Linked DNA regions of Homo sapiens: region 1 is linked to region 2. Evidence: promoter capture Hi-C in human tissues and cell types (Jung and others, 2019). All regions are on one chromosome and are shown on one strand. Each heading gives the region's core, a stretch centred on a gene start or on the middle of the fragment in contact. The rest is flanking DNA. Distances are from core to core; before and after follow the strand shown. Region 1 overlaps GNG12-AS1 (GNG12, DIRAS3 and WLS antisense RNA 1). Region 2 holds the start of DIRAS3 (DIRAS family GTPase 3).

Region 1 (2,785 bases), core at 25-2,524, 34 kb before region 2:
GAGTTTGGTGACCTATTAATGAAAAAGGAAAGTTATTCCCCATTACCCCCAGGGCCACTCACCATGCACATGATTACAGAGGAAGAATAAGATAATCATAATGAACGCCCATTAGAAAACAGAGGAAGAATGTGAGGCACACTGTGGTCACTGGACCTTGGCAATTCAGAAATCCCACTAGGCAGACATTGTAAAGGCTCTCTACCCTAAACGAGGAAGTCCTTAGTTAGGCTGTGATCTGCTCTATGGGATGATCTTTCTCACTCACTGTTCTGGGAGGCCCCTAGTCTTGTTCTTTGGGAAGCTCTTCCCTGTTCATTTTCATATTTGTTCATCTCCAACATGGGTGTTAGAGTAGACCCAAGTACACTCACTTTCTTCCTGAGATTTTCTTTAAAAAGCAACTCTCCATAATACAGACTTTTCTAGACCCGGCTTATGGTTTCTTTGGTAGTAAAATTGCCTCAAACAGTAGTAGGTTTTTGTTTCATTTGTTGCTAATCTGTTTCCTGTGTCATTAACAGCACTTCTTTTCTGATGCACCCTTCAAATATGTTTTCTTTCTCTGTCTAACTACCCGCCATGCCTCTCTTACTAACTTGAAGCTAGCAGGCTCATGAGACATCAACACCCTTCATCTCATCTGTACTACCAAGTGAGTCTAATGGACTTTTCTGGCTTCCTGTATCTTTTTTCTTTTTATTCAGGATCTAGAAGCAGTTTTTTCCTCTTCTATTCAAAGCCCAACATTAGATATTCTCTGTTTCCTTTCACCTGTGCTTGCCACACACAATTTTTGCCCAAGCACACCTTTGTCTTGTAATATCTTACTCAAAGCAGCCATAGTGGCCAACACACACTATCTTTCTGACTTACAATCACTTTTCTAGAACTTTAGGCAGGCAACCATTTTGTCAAATAGTTTGGCATAGCAAAACAGGGCTCCTCAGCCATTCCAGTCTCTAATAATTTGTCTCCTCACCAGCCCAGGTCACATGCTTTAGTTTTCTGTTGTAGGAGCACCCACTTCAAAGTATCAATGTTTAATTTGGTTAGGGTAGTCCACAGTATGCTGTGATTACAGAAAAGTCCAAGCATATAAAGGCTCAGTAGGGAAATAGTTTATTTCTCAGTTGTCTCAAAGTCTATTGCAGGCTGAGTAATTCTCCAGGAAGTAATTTGGGAGCTACAGCTCCTTCTACCCCATAGTTCTATTATATTCTATGCATGACTCTCAGAGTGGTCTTGAAAGTTCTCTCCATTCCAGTCTTATGGTAGAAGGATAGGTCTGAAAGTGGCATACATGACTTTCACCCATAATGTTCATTTTGGCTGGAGAGTCAGTCATAGCTGTGCCTAATGCCAGAGAGGCTGGGAAATGTAGTCCAGCTGTGTGCCCAGGAAGAGGAAGATACAGGTTTGGTAAGGATCTTGCCAGTCTCTGCCACTGTTAGCTATGAAATTGGCCCCAAGGCCTGTCTATTCTGCCTCCATAATCTCTCTACATATTTTTACTCCTATTTTCAATATCCCCTCTTTTGTATATATTCTTTCATAGTTTTTAATAATAACTTCTATGTTTCTCTCCAGGCTCTTATCCTTCAAATTTCATTTAGATAGTTGCCAGTTATTTTTCTAAAGCTCAGATCTGATCATATTACTCTCCTTGCCCAAAAATGCCATTGTCCTCCACACTCAGGATTACAGAATGAAGTGCAAACTCTTTAGCCTGTTGCATAAGTTCTACACACCCTATGCTCTCACATGGCAGACTTTGCCTATACGTCATGTTCTTTCCTTTCCTGCCTTAGTGCATGTGGTGTACTGTTGGCCTCCTCTACTTGTTCAAATAACACTTGTATGTTAAGACTTTCATGAAGCTGTCCTTGAGTTGCCACGTTAACAAGGTCCTTTCCTCCAACATTCTCAGTCCCTTGCTTATCAGTCCCCTTGATTCTTACATTGTTACTGTGATATGCTATAATTATTCTCACCTTATGTGTCCAAGGACAGCTGTATATTTACAAATAGCAGAACCAATAGGAAAGTTTGAAATATTTACATCTCCAAATTATGAAGGAAAACAAGATCAACATCCTTGTAAATGTCAACTCAAGACTTTAAGAAATCAGATTCTCTGTACAAGCTTTATGAGTCAGAAGAAAACATCTCTCCCACTGTTAGTGCAGGAAAAAGGAAGCATCTTGTCCATCTTGTCTAAAAACCTTTTTGTTATTAATAATTTAAAACACTTCATTGTAAACATTGGCTATTGTAATCCTATTAATTAGCCTTAAAGTTTTAAAGTAAGTAATCTGTAAGTATGATATGGAAAGAGAAAAAGAAGAGTAACTTTATAGTGAAGAAACCTGATAAACATTACCTCAGCCAGGTGATCAAGGTTAATATCTGATATAGTTTGGCTCTGTGTCCCCACGCAAATCTCATGTTGTACTGTAATTCCCAATGTTGGAGGTGAGGCCTGGTGGGAGGTAATTGGAACATTTGGGTGGTTTCTAATGGTTTAACACCATCCCCCTAATGCTGTCTTATAATAGAGTTCTCAGGAGACCTGGTTGTTTGAAAAGTGTGTAGCACCTCCTTTTTCATTCTCCCTCTCCTGCCAGCCATGTGAATATGTACTTGCTTCCCCTTTGCCTTCCACCATGATTGCAACTTTCCCAAGGTCTCCCCAGAAGCAGAAGCTTGTACAGTCCACAGAACTGTGAGCCTATTAAAACCTCTTTTCTATGTAAGTTACCCAGTTTTAGGTATTTCGTTATAG
Region 2 (2,700 bases), core at 183-2,682:
CTGGTCTCTAACTCCTGGCCTCAACCTCCTTATTCTCTAGGATTACAGGCGCCAGGCTAGACCTCACAGGTCTTTAGACTTCTACGCACCAGGTACCTGGTAGGGGGAGGGATTATAGTGGCAGAAGAGCAGTACCAGTGGCCCACACCACACACCCTGGCCTCAGCTGGCTGGGGCACACAAAACCAGGTGCTACCGTCAACGACTAGGCCCATAGGGTACTGCTGTCAAAACCTGCTGCCAACAACTTCCACACACTCCCCAAAACGCTCGGTAGGCGGTGGTGCGCAGCTTTCAATGCATCCGCCGCCAGGCGCTCACAGGCAAGGGAGAAAGAAGCCAGACGGAGCTCGGAGATGTGGAGGGCAGACGCAGGCGCATTTGGAAAAGGGACTGGCGGTGGGAGGCGCAGAGGGAAAAAGGAACGACACAATCGGGCTTCCTAGCCGCTGGCGGACCCGATGGGGCGTCCTGCGAGGGTTCGGCGAGGGTTCTGCCAGGATAGTAGCATTGCGCCCAAGGAGTGAGAGGCACCCGGGGCTACTGGAGCCAGACCCTCAACCCGCCCTAGTGGGAGGCGAAGAACAACGAAAGCCTCGTATTCCCATTTCTCTAATGGCTAATGACATTAAAGGTTTTCATATGGTTATTTGCCATCTGCATATCTTCAGTGAAGTGTCTGTTTATGTCTTCTGACTATTTTCTAATTGGATTTTTAAAAATAATTGATTTTTGAGTTATTTACATATTCTAGATACTGGTTGTATGCCAGATATATGGCTTGTAAATATTTTCTCCTAGGTAAACCTTTTCAGTATCGTTACAGGGTCTTTCACAAAGCAAAAGTTTTAAATTTATGGAGTCTAATTCATCAACATTTCTTTTTACCGGTCTTGCCACTAATGTCAATTTAAGAACCTTTTGCCTAGCCTTAGACAATAGTTTGTTGTTTTTTAAAACCGTTTTGTAATTTTACTCGTCACAGTTATATCTAGCCACTTAATTTTTATGTAAGGGTTATTTTTGGCGGGGGGGAATCTATAGATGTCCTGTCTTTTCAGTATCATTTGTGGAAAAGATTATCTGTCCTGCATTAAACTGCTTTTGGACTTTCGTCTAAAATCAGTTGGACCGGTTTTTGTTGGCAAAGTTTTGCCTGAAGCTTATTCCAACAGGTGAGAAAAAGTCCACAGTTTAACAGTTCCTCCCCAACCTGTAACCCCGCCTTGAACTTCTGGACTAGCCCCTCGATTGTTGTAGATGCCAAGCGGACCTCGCGCCGCTCTGCGTTGGGCCAGCCCCTCACAGCTGGTTTCTTACCACGTATTGCGCAAGCGGAATCTATGCCTGTTACCCACACTCCCTGCGCCCCCGCACCCCGCTCCTGTGCGCAAGTCGGAATATAAAACCGCGGAGGAGTGAGCTCTTGGGGTGTCCAGTTGGTTGCCGCGGCAGTCTCTCCGAGCAGCGCATTTGTCTTCTAGGCTGCTTGGTTCGTGCCTCCGAGAAAGGTAAGTCTTTCTTTCGCTTTTTTAGGGGTACTTGAAAACAACAAGTGTCAGACAAAGCAGCAGATGCTGTTGCGCAGTAGAAGTTTATGGGCGAGTTGTCCCTGAAACTGGAACCAGGTCTTTCTTGGCGCGATTACGCAAGAACCACCCGCAGCCCTGCGGGCTCCTGGCAGGTCCTGCAACTGCACTTTGGATAGTCCCGTTGGGAAGCTAGCACTTTTTAATATAGAAGAACGAGGTTTGATAAGTGTGCGAGCTTAAAGGTTGACACAGTGTCCACTATTACAGCTGCGTAGGTAGCTAGTGTTCAGGAAGTAATAGTGGAGTCATGTAGTGTGAAAGTAAGATTGAAATGGGCGAGGAGGGTAGCAGCCGCCACAGCCACCAGAGAGAAACCTGACCTTGCAGGTGCGTGGTGATGTCCATGAGCCAGGCTGGTGCCGCAACAGCAGCGGCGGGACCTTGAGCTCCGCACGGCCGCTGGGTTTGGACGCCCTCTGGTTCCTGGAAACTTTCACCTCCCCCTCAGCCTGAGGCCAGGTGGCCTGGGAAGGTGGAAGGAGTGTGGAGGGGAGTGGGGGGGGGGGTCCACTGCCTGAGAATGAGAATTCTCTTCACATCTGGAAACTTCAGTTATCACGTGTGTCCTTTACCAATTTTTTTTCTTTTATTTTCTTTTTGATAGAGACGGCGGTCTCCCTATGTTACCCAGGCTAGTCTTGAACTCCTGTGCTTAAGCGATCCTCCCACCTTGACTTCCCAAAGTGCTGGAATTACAGGCATGAGCCAATGCGCCCGGCTGCTTTACCAATTTTCTATGAATGAATTTGTACATACATCCCCTAGAGCAGGAAGTAATGTAAAACAGAATAATTAGTAATGCACATTTCCTAATGTGGGATGTTGGTGGCCAAGAGATATTTGGTCTTTACTGGAACTCTTGATACTAACATGGAGTTTATAATAGTTGTGGAGAGTGCAGACAAGGCTAGGATTTCTGTGACTAGAGAACTCTTAGTGCGTGAAGACCTAAGGAAAGCTGGATTGTTGATTTTTGTTAATAAATAAGATGTGAAAGATTGCATCACTGTAGCAGAAATCTCCTAGTTTTTTAAGCTAAATTCTATTAAAGGTCATCATTGCTAAAGGAATTGTGCCCAGGATTTGGATAGCTGATGTCATTACTTAA

What was found. Contacts are between HindIII fragments. The study calls those that stand out against the background at their distance.
Region 1: a contact is called between a fragment that was not itself captured here and the fragment with the promoter of DIRAS3 in region 2, in 1 of the 25 tissues and cell types used here (thymus).

Annotation. Positions count from the first base shown.
Region 1 is chr1:68,082,912-68,085,696 of GRCh38, reverse strand. All of the region lies in intron 3 of GNG12-AS1 (GNG12, DIRAS3 and WLS antisense RNA 1), which reads right to left. Among named protein-coding and RNA genes, the nearest start is that of DIRAS3, 34 kb to the right of the region's middle. The HindIII fragment of the contact is 6,559 bases long and covers 1-2,785 here.
Region 2 is chr1:68,049,359-68,052,058 of GRCh38, reverse strand. It overlaps DIRAS3 (DIRAS family GTPase 3), which reads left to right and starts at 1,432. Exons shown (of 2, transcript NM_004675.5): 1 at 1,432-1,511. All of the region lies in intron 2 of GNG12-AS1 (GNG12, DIRAS3 and WLS antisense RNA 1), which reads right to left. It also overlaps the pseudogene ARL5AP3. The HindIII fragment of the contact is 12,521 bases long and covers 1-2,700 here.